Regions from separate parts of the Homo sapiens genome. Here region 2 is linked to region 1. The links are contacts of gene promoters, found by promoter capture Hi-C in blood cells and fetal thymus (Javierre and others, 2016). All regions are on one chromosome and are shown on one strand. The core of a region is centred on a gene start or on the middle of the fragment in contact, and the rest is flanking DNA. Distances in the headings are between cores, read along the strand shown. Region 1 holds the start of TRAPPC3 (trafficking protein particle complex subunit 3). Region 2 overlaps KIAA0319L (KIAA0319 like).

Evidence for each region. Contacts are between HindIII fragments. The CHiCAGO score rates a contact against its expected background, and 5 or more counts as called.
Region 2: a contact is called between a fragment that was not itself captured here and the fragment with the promoter of TRAPPC3 in region 1, in 1 of 17 cell types (neutrophils). The highest score is 5.1, in neutrophils.

What each region holds. Positions count from the first base shown.
Region 1 is chr1:36,146,924-36,152,503 of GRCh38, forward strand. It overlaps TRAPPC3 (trafficking protein particle complex subunit 3), which reads right to left and starts at 2,563. Exons shown (of 5, transcript NM_014408.5): 1 at 2,414-2,563. The coding sequence starts at 2,455. RefSeq lists enhancers at 2,233-2,893, 2,247-2,326, 2,457-3,116. The HindIII fragment of the contact is 15,390 bases long and covers 433-5,580 here.
Region 2 is chr1:35,545,611-35,551,190 of GRCh38, forward strand. All of the region lies in intron 2 of KIAA0319L (KIAA0319 like), which reads right to left. Among named protein-coding and RNA genes, the nearest start is that of KIAA0319L, 9.0 kb to the right of the region's middle. The HindIII fragment of the contact is 1,960 bases long and covers 1,145-3,104 here.

The sequences.
Region 1 (5,580 bases), core at 1,313-3,812:
TGCACAGACTAAAATCTAGTTACTTGGGCATACTAACAATTTAGATGGCTCTTGAGCCGTTTGCTTGAGCCTGCTCCTGCTATGTGGAGTGTACTTTCATTTCAATAAATCTGTGCTTTTGGTGCTTCAAGAAACAAAAAATGAAGGCTGGGTGCAGTGGCTCATACCTGTAATCCCAGCACTTTGAGAGGCTGAGGTGGGGAGATCACTTGAGGTCAGGAGTTTGAGACCAACCTGGGAATACAAAAATTAGCCAGCCGTAGTGGTTGGGTGCCTGTAATCCTAGCTACTCGGGAGGCTGAGGCAGGAGAATCTTTTGAACCTGGGAGGTGGAGGCTGCAGTGAGCTGAGATCGGGCCACTGCACTCCAGCCTAGGTGACAGAGCGAGACTCTGTCTCAAAACACAAAACAAAACAATTTAGGTCTTGGCAAGCTTAAATGGAACACAGATGCAATCCCAGTAATTTGTGAAGCAGAGTTGGAGGGACTGCTTGAGCCCAGGAGTTCGAGACCTCGAGACCAACCTGGGCAACACAGGGAGACCCCTAGCTCTACAAAAAAAAAAAAAAATTAGCCAGGCATGGTGGTGCACACCTATAGTACCAGCTACTTGGGAGGCTGAGGCGGGAGGACTGCTTGAACTCGGGAGGTCAGGCTGGATGAGCCTCAATCATGCCACTACACTCCAGCCTGGGTATATCATTTAAAATTAAATAGACAGTGCTATGAAGACAACCAGCATAGAGTTAGAGGTTAGAGAATTAGGCAGGTAATCAGGAGGGAAGGCCTCTCAAAGGAGGTGACATTTGAGTAACTATGAATGAAGGCAGGAGTGGGCTAAGTGACTATCTAGAAGAAGGGAGTTCCAAGAGCCTTGAGGGCAGGAGTATGCTGCTGCCCCTCCCTAATTACCTTACTTCACTGAAACGAAGAATACTGGGGGCTGGGGGTAGAGTCTGCAGATTTTTGTTAAAGATTTCAATATTGATTTCAGGCTTAAAAAATGGATAAAATGAGAGCAAAGTACAAAAACTAACCAGGAAGACCTCTACTCATCTCATAGGAAAAGGAGAAAGAAACATTTACCATGCCCCTCACATTTTACACCATCCCATTTAATATTAGGTAGACATTACTATCCCCATTTTATAGATAAAGAAATTGAAGATCAATCAAGTAAGTCAGAATTCCAACCAAGGTCCATGTGTTTCCCCTTACCTGACATTGTTTCCTAACAAAATATTCTCGTCTTTTGGCCGGGTGTGGTGGCTCACCCCTGTAATCCCAGCACTTTGGGAGCCTGAACAGGCAGATCACTTAAGGCCACGAGTTCGAGACCAGGCTGGCCAACATGGTGAAACCCCGTCTCTACTAAAAATACAAAAATTGGTCAGGCGCAGTGGCTCACGCCTGTAATCCCAGCACTTTGGGAGGCCGAGACAGGCGGATCACCTGAGGTCAGGAGTTCGAGACCAGCCTGGCCAACATGGTGAAACCCCATCTCTACTAAAAATACAAAAATCAGCCAGGCGTGGTGGTGGACACCTGTAATCCCAGCTACTCGGGAGGCTGAGGCAGAAGAACTGCTTGAACCTGGGAGGCAGAGGTTGCAGTGAGCCAAGTTAGTGCCACTGCACTCCACCCCGGGTGACAGAGATTTCGTCTGGGGGCGGGGGGAGGGAGGGAAGAACGAAAGAAAAATGACCTAAGTCTGCAGCCCCAGCCCCTAGTCCAACTTTATAGGACCATATGGTGTCCAAACTATTCCCTGGGAAAGAAGGGAGCCACCCACTCCATTAGAGGGGCACCACTCACTGCTTACTCTGGCCCATCTCTTATTCCATTGAATAAAACGTTCCTTTCTGGCACGACCAGTATCTGAACATCTCTCACAATACCCACGCCACAGTACGAGACACTGTAGCCTAAGAGTAAAGCCTAACAGTCAGCTCCTAGCATTAGCTTTGGAGTTAAACACGGGTCCAAATCCTAACTTCCCAGGTGTAAATATGGGCAAATTACGTAAGCTCTCCAAGCTGTAAAACGGCAATGTTATCCATCTGATAGGGGCTACTCTGCAGATTAACTGAGATGCTGTAACGTGCGTGGCCCGGTGCCCAACACATAGTAAGAGAGAAGTTAAGTGGCAGTTATTGGTATTTATTACCGTCGTTGTTGTTGGCTTAGCACAGAGCTGCACTCAGGCCTTGGGGGCGGGGTCTCCTCCGGGGAACTTCTCCGACGGTCCCCTCACCTGCCTGGAACGCCCCCGGAGTGACCCAGCAAGAGGCTTCCCCTTGCCAGAGCTCACAGGAAGGCCCTTTTCCAAACGCACCTCGCGCTCGGCGCCGGGCCCCTTCCCTGTACGCCTCAATTTCGCCCCGCCCGCCGAGGTCACGCGCTCCAAGTTACCATTTTCTTGCTCTCGGTGCCACGGTTCGCCTGCCTCGACATGGTGCCGGCCGCCCCGCCCCACTCGCCTAGCCACGGGTTAGCTCGGCGACCCCTGCAGACGCCGGAGCCTAAGCCGCTGCCCCTCAGCCCACAAGACCGACCGGCACTGACTCACTGCGCCTGCGCGGCCTCCCGCGGGGCACCACGGGACTAGTGGTCCGGCCGACGTGGGCAACTCCCGCCCAACAAACGTCAGACTACAACACCCAACAGCCCCTTTGGCAGCACCGCCTCTTAACACAGTCAACTACAACTCCCGGAGTGCTCCGCGCGCGCCTGCCTGGTAGAGCCCAGCTTGCGCTGGGCAGCATCCTGGCCGCTGGGTGGCGTCCGCAGCCTTCGGTAATCCTGGGTCACACACACGCTTCCTCCTTGTCCCCCTCCCCCCGCGCCCGGCTCAGAGATGATGCTCCACAAATTCCTCTCTCGCCGGGGTTGGTCTTGGAAAGTCCCTCTTTCGAGCTAGCGTCTTCCGCTGTTGCGATTCAGCTCCAGAAGCTCCCAAGATGTCCCAGAAAACTAGCAATGACTCACACAGAATTGGCTTCTTCATTAGAAAAATATTTAATGACCTACTATGTGCCAAGCATTTCGCTAGTGTCTTTCTCTTCAGACTGCCAAACCCCAAATGATGCCAGCACCTGCCTTCTACCACCTGTGGCCTCGTGATGGAATATCCAGTCTTTTAGGTAAAGTTCAAGTCACTTTCTCCCCCTCCCTCCCCCTAGAACAGCTACACTGCCTGGTTCCCAGAAAACAAAGATCACTAACTGTCGTGGCCGTCAGTTCTGAGTTCTAATCCCAGCTTTGCCATTTTAGGCAAGTTGCTAAATCTCTCTCAGTTGTTGTAAAGACTGGTGAGCCACGCATGCCCAGCACTTGGGCGCATAAAAGGCATAAAAGAAACGTGTATTCCCTTCCAGCCACCCTCCAAAAACAAGCCAACAAACAGGCACCAGAAACACGAAGGGAATGTGCTGGCTGAACTCTCACCCATCACCAAGGGGAAGTCTATAGTCCCTGACCACAGCTCTTTGGTTTCAGCTCCCGCGGTCTCTCAGCTGGTCAACTCTGAGGAAGCTGGGCTGGGGGGTCCCTGAGCACTCTCTGTTCACTTAGGCCTGGTAGCCTGACTGTAGCAGCTGCATTCTGGCCCCTAGCCCTCACCATGACAACCAGCCTGTCCAGACACGAGCCAGCCAGGCTAGGGAGGGCTGGGGGGCCGCTGAGGCTGCAAGCTGGTGCCCAGGGTTCCCCCAGTCCCTCCCTCAGGGTGCAGGACCAATCATTATTATACCCTTTTCCCCAGACATTCTGTTTCCTCCCTAGAGGCAGTGACCCCTCACTCTCCATCCTGTGTAATGCCACAGGGGAGGGAGCCAAGGGCCGAGGGCTCTGGGAAGGAACTTGAGGGTTGGTTGGGGTTGGGGGAGGAAAGCAGGAGTCAACTAGCCCCCAAGGGCCAGCTCAGCTAGACAAGAGCCCTCTGCATTCCCAGGACAGAGGACAGCTGAGGTGAAAGCTGCAGTTGGCCAGCCGGTCTGTCGGTCTGGGCTCCTCCCTGCCGGCTGCCCTTGGCTGCCCACAGAAACCTGAGTCACACTCACAGCCAGCCACCCAACCCCACCCTGCCTGCTGTCAAGCAGGGCGGTTCTAGAGAGAGTGGAGGTGGAGCCTTTCCCTGCCTGTCCAACAGCCTCCGAGATTTTGCCTCTCTCTGCCTGGGATTCCTCCTCTTGGCGTCTCTTTCTCTTTGGGACTTGCAGTGTCATTAGTCCTGAATGAACAGTGGGGGTGGGGGCCATCTCAGGTTGATCTATATGATCCCCTCCTCACTCAGATAGGTTCTTAAAGGCTTCTTAGGCCGAGCACAGTGGCTCATGCCAGTAACCCCAGCACATTGGGAGGCAAAGGCAGGAGGAACACTTTAGCCCAGGAGTTTGAGACCAGCCTGGGCAACATAGTGAGACCCCCATCTCCATAAAAAATAATTTTTAAAAAGGCTGTTCTGTTATGAAATAGCCACTCTTTTGTTTATTTACTTTTTTAACAAAAATAAATAAAAATTAAAAAAAACAACAACCAGCTGAGCATTGTGGTGTGCACCTCTGGCCCCCAGCTACTAGGAAGGTTAAGGTGGGAAGATTGCTTGAGCCCAGGAGGTGGAGGGTGCAGTGAGCCATGTTTGCACTACTGCACTCCAGCCTGGGTGACAGAACTGAAACCTTGTCTCAAAACAACAACAACAACAACAAAACTCCTTAGACAGCTGTTCCAAGGATTCTCAGTATGGTTTCCATCATTCCCAAATCCCAACCCTCCTTACCACTTCTAGGTGCCAGGACATTTAGGAACACCAGATGTCCCCTCACCACCCTCTTCTCCTTCTCCCTAGAAAACAACACAAGGGATAGCTTTCTGTTCCTATCAGGGGCTCTAGACAAAGACTCTCTCCTGGGAACCCAAAGGGTTGAATCTATTTAGTCCTGTATCTGAGTTCCCCGCCTCCCCAAGAGCTGGACAGGGAGGGGCAGCTGGCATCACCAGCCACAGGGAGTGGGCCCTGGGAGCTGAGGCCCCCCAGGAAGGCCGGTGCTGGTTAGAGACCCCGTGTTGCTGCAGTCCCTTGAGGCTGGGGCAGTGCCTTGAGGCTGGGGTGGGAGTGAGAATGGGTGCCTATTCTCTCCTCTGCCCCCACTGTGAGGCCCCTCCCACTTCCTGCAGTAATTTGTGGGTGTGGGAGCAGCATCCAAGGCCTCAGTTCTGAGAGATTTGTTAATTTTCTTAACTCTCCCAGTGATTTCCTTCATCTCTCCATCAGGTTCATCCTGGATCCTGCCCCACCAAACTAGGAGGCTGAAAATATCCTTGCCTTTCTTCCCCTCGGGGAAACAGGATGGAAACATATTTCTTTTTCTTTTTTTTTTTTTTTTGTCCTCCTTTTTTTTTGAGAGAGTCTTGCTCCGTCGCCCAGGCTGGAGTGCAGTGGTGTGATCTTGGCTCACTGCAACCTCCGCCTCCCAGGTTCAAGTGATTCTCCTGCCTCAGCCTCCTGAGTAGCTGGGACTACAGGCATGTGCCACCATGCCTGGCTAATGTTTTTGTATTTTTAGTAGAGACTGGGT
Region 2 (5,580 bases), core at 875-3,374, 600 kb before region 1:
AGAATAGAGAATGACTTAGGCAGCCAGGTGCGGTGGCTCACACCTGTAACCCCAGCACTTTGGGAGGGTGAGGCAGGTGTTTGAGACCAGCCTGGCCAACATGGTGAAACCCTGTCTGTAGTAAAAATACAAAAATTAGCCGGGCGTGGTGGCAGGTGCCTGTAATCCCAGCTACTCAGGAGGCTGAGGCAGGAGAATCGCTTGAACCTGAGAGGCAGAGGTTGCAGTGAGCCAAGATTGTGCCACTGTACTCCAGCCTGGGCGACAGAGCAAGACTGTGCCTTGAAAAAAAAGAAAAATGACTCAGGGATTTCAACCTCAGAATATGGCTAGAGGTGGTCTTTTCATGGTTATAGGGAATAAAGGAAAAGAAAGGGGGTAAAAGATCACAGGTTCAGTTTTGCGATACTAAGTTAGAGGTAGCCATGAGACATCTTGGCTGGAGATGTGCAGCGTACAGATGGCTAAGTGGTCTGGAGCTCAGGAATAGCTATAAATTTGGAAGTAGTGAGCACACAGGTTACAAGTGAGGAATGAATGAGACTGCCCAGGGAGACCACAAGTGGGACAAAAAAGGGTGAAACAGAACCCTGACAAACAAAAGATGTAAGGGAGAGAAGGGAGTGGGGGAAAAATAATAAGAAAGTGCTGTGCATTGGCTAAGAGGAGGACAAAACAAAGCATGGTGTAACTTAAGGCAAGTGAGGAAACGGTCTCAAGAAGGTAATCAAAGGTGTCAAATGCAGTAGAGATGTTAAGTAAGGTAAGAAATAAAGGCGTCCAACTAGGAAGGTCAGTAGTTACCCTGGCAAAAGCCAAGGTTTGGGCAGAAGCCAGACCTTACTGAACTCAGAAGAGGATGAAGGTGGGAGAATGGAAATAGCAAATGTGGTCTACTCTTTCAGAAAGCTTCACTGACTGCAAAGATCAAGTCAGGGAACTGGACAGCAATCTTTCACGAAGAACAGTGCCTGCCTCAATAAATATTTATTGACTGAGTAAGTAATTTTAAAAATGAACAAAAGAATGAAGAAATCTATACCCATCCAGTTGTTTCTCTAGTCCTTGTCTCCAACTGTGTCAGTTTGTCCATCTATAAACTGAATACGTATTAGGCCCAAGCCAAGTTCCATTTCCTCCATGAAGCTTTCCTTGATTTTTCTAACCTTCAACAACCTTCTCTACTATAATAGAAAAGATGAATAATAACAAGTGTTGGCAAGGATGTAGAGAAACTGGAACCCCCATACTTTACTGGTGGAAATGTAAAATGGTGCAGCTGCTATAGAAAACAGTTTCTCAAAAAAGTTAAACCAAGAGTTACCATAACATCCAGCAATTCCACTCCTATATATAAATATATATATAAAAGTGAAATTTTATATATAAATTTATATACATATATAAATAATGGAATTGCTGGATCATATATATATTATTACATGTTTATATACAAATAGTGGAATTGCTGGATCATATATATTATTACATATATTATATATATGATCCAGCAATTCCACTATTTATATATGTAATATATACATATATAATTACATATAATTATACATATTATACGTGATTATATATAATCCAGCAATTCCATTTATATATAAATTTATTTCATATATATTTATATATAAATTGCATATATATTTTACTATAGTGCAATTGGATATATACATATAGTGGAGTGGAATTACATATATACATTATATATATATATACACATGATCCAGCAATTGTACTATTTATATGTAAATACATGTATTTATATATACAGATATCCAAGAAAATTAAAAACATATGTTCACACAAAAATGTATACATAAATGTTAAGAGCAACATTGTTCATAATAGCCAAAAAGTAGAAACAACCCAATGTCCATCAACTGATGAATGGATAAACAAAAGTGGCATATCCATAAAGCAGAATATTATTCAGCCATAAAAAGAAATGAAGTACTGATACCTGCTAGGATATGGATGAACCTTGGAAATATTATGCTAAATGAAATAAGCCAGACACAAAAGGCCACGTATTGTACGATTCCATTTATGAAATGTCCAGAATAGGCAAATCCATAGAGTCAGAAAGCAGATTTGTGGTTTCTAGTAGCTGGGGGAGGAGAGGATAGGGAGTGACTGCTAATGGGTACAGGGCTTCTTCTAGGGGTGAGAAAAAAGTTCTGGAATTAGATAGTGGTATATCTCAATTTTAAAAAACTTCTTGGCCAGGTGCAGTGGCTCACGCCTGTAATCCCAGCACTCTGGGAGGCCAAGGTGGGTAGAATGCTCAAGGCCAGGAGTTTGACACCAGACTGGCAACATGGCAAAACCCCATCTCTACTAAAAATACAAAAATTAGCCAGGTGTGGTGGTGCACCCCTGTAGTCCCAGCTACTCGGGAGGCTGGGGTAGGAGAATTGCTTGAACCCTGGAGGCTGAGGTTGCAGTGAGCTGAGATCGTACCACTGCAGTCCAGCCTGGGCAACAGAGTGTGACTCTGTCTCGAAAAAAAAAAAAAACTTCCTCTAATCTCTCTACTACAGAACATCTAAATTCTACCCATCTCTTTAGGACTACCTCTACTTGTTTGTATTGAATGAAATTACTGAGAGGTTCCTTGAAGACAGAGTCTCATCAACTTTCTCCTGGACTATTTCATTAACATGCTAATGGATACCCTAACCTCTAACCCTGACCTCCCTCCCTTTTCCATCCATCTCCATCTCCACAATTACCACTTTTCTATACTCCTGCAAAAATTATTCAGAAATTTACCAGTATTATAGTATATTTAATACAGTATTAATAGTTTTATATTTAATACTAGCATTAAAGTATTATAGTGTTTGCCTTAAGAGGTGCACAAGACAAATCCCTCGGGCATGAAAAGAAAATATTAGAACTCTTCATATTTGCTTCTGTCAATCCCTTTAACATTTTGTTTTTGGCATCTCTTACACATATATAAGACATTAGTATAAAATTACGTGTTATAATGTATAAATTTATATACAGGGGTACATTCTCAATTTTTCAATGGATTAAAGTGCATCATGAAAAAAATTTATAGACCATCTACCTAAAAAGTTTAAAATTGAAGCTTCTTAGCATAGCATACAAGATCCTTTGTGACCTAGCCACCACCTACCTCTTCTGGAGCTGCCATACCAGCTTTGCTCTTTATATTCCAGTAGTGCTAAACTGCTTGTGGAGTTTCTTCTATATACCAGGCTGTTTCACTTTTGTGCCTTTGCTCTTGCATTCCCATTGCATGGGAATACCCTTTGAATCCTTCAAATTCAACCTTCACAACTCTGTTCAGGCATCAGCTTCTCTAGAAGATGCTTCTCTAGAAAGAACTCCTTAGAGCACCCTCTTTGCCTCCAAGCTAAATGCTTCTCCTACGGTTCCAGTAGCACTCTGTGCGTTGCATCTTTTTTTTTTTTTTTTAAGAGACAGGGTCTCCCTCTGTCACCCACACTGGAGTACAGCGACATGATCACAGTTCACTGCAGTCTTGAACTCCCGGGCTCAGGTGATCCTCTCATCTCAGCCTTTCGAGTAGCTAGGACTACAGGTGCCCACCACCACCAGCTAATTTTTTTTATTTTTGTAGAGATGAGGTTTCACTATGTTGTCCAGGCTGGTCTTGAACTCCTGGCCTCGGGTGATCCTCCTGCCTCAGCCTCTCAAAGTGCTAGGATAAGCCAATGCACCTGGCCTCTACCTTTTCACTTGCTACTGGTAGTTATTCCAGAGAAAGGATTGTATTGTACTAATCTTTATTATCCTGGTGCCTAGTCTAGAAGCAGACTCCTAGTAAGTTCTCAAAAAATGGTTCTGAATTGAATAATTTATCTCTGTACTCAAAATACGTATTAACTAACTGTATAATCTCCTTCCCAGAGGTAGGGAAATGTCAGTACAAGTTTTCATAGCCAACTGTTAGCTCTGGGCCTAAGGACATTGGCTTCAGTGATTCTCCCTGTTTCAGATTTCTAGGGCCAATTAGGTCCTTGCATCCCCCACAAACATGCACACATAACTCTTCAGATGTATACATTCTTTCTTTGTATGTGTTAATATATTTGTTAAGATTTTAGTCAATCTTGTTGGTCTCAAAAGCATTGGTCTCCTTAAAGTGCCTTTCCATATCTCTGCTCTGATTTTGTTGTTTTTAAAGCTTAATTCTCAAAGAACAATTCCCTTATTGGTAATTTATTAATTTATTCAGTCAACAAATATTTTATGCATCTACTATGTGCCTTGGTACCCGCTAAGAATATCTAGCATAACTAAAAGAGGCAACATGTCTGCTCTCAAGAAGCTGACAATCTATTGTAGGAATTTCCAAAACTCCTGGGATCACTTCCTATTTGTCTCCAGATGAGAATCCCCAGGTCCAAAACACTATTTTTCAAGCCACTTAACAATAAAATTAAACAGAAAAATAGCCATTCCATGGCACACAAGGAAAACACAGACAGACCATCTTTTATCAAATTGTAATCAATGCTTTCTAACAGTAGGGCTTCAGTACTGAACCCAAAAGTGGAAATAAAAAAGCTCACCATGTCTAAGTCAACAGCTGCCTGGGGCTCTACCAAAGATGGAGCAAACTCCTAAGTGGTAAGCGGGAGTGGAGGATAACTGCAGAGCTGCCTTAATTTGGTTAGTTTTTCAGAAATAATCCATGAGCTAAATAACAGCAGGAATCAAGAATGTATTTTATCGGAAAAAAATGTAAACACTCAGGTAAACACTGAGTAAACTCATGAGTAGAGAAATACTGACTCAGGCTCCCACCAATAGGTTTTTGCTGTTATTATTTTGTTGTTGCTTTTTCAAGTAGGTTGTTTTCCCCCTTATATAAAAAGGAATACAAGTATACCAAAGAAAGGCCTGGAAAACACAGAAAAATATGAAGAGATAATAATTCCTCTAGTCAAAAAAATACATAAATATTTAGTTGTACATCTTGTTTCAGACTGTTTTCTATTACATAATTTTTTCTTCTTTTCACAAAATTGACAGCATATTGAATATGTAGTTGCATAACTTGATTTTATCATTTAATATTAGGAGCATTTTCCCGTGTACTTTTTTTTTAAATTATTAAACATTTTTTAATTCTAAAGAGACAGGGCCTCACTATGTTGCCGGCTGGTCTCAAACCCCTAGGCTCAAGCAATCCTCCCATCTTAGCCCCCGAGTAGCTGGGACTAGAGACGTGTGCCACCACACCCAGCTTTTCTTTTAAAATATGAATTTTAAGACTGGATAGTATCCCACCATGTGGAGATGCAAAGATTTCACCACTCTCCTATAATTAAGCAGGTTTCAGCAATATTTTGCAGCACAGAATAAATGACTGTTGATCAGTGCTCTCATTCACAACTATCTAAGTGTATCCTTCAGATAAATTCTTAAATGAAGAATTAAGTCGAAAAATATGAATTTTTTTAGGGCTCTTGATATTTATGCCAAGAAGTTCTCTTTTCAAACTCCTCAGCACTATATGAGGACAACCACATCACCCCTTGGCAGCACTGGATAGTTTTACTTTAATTTTCA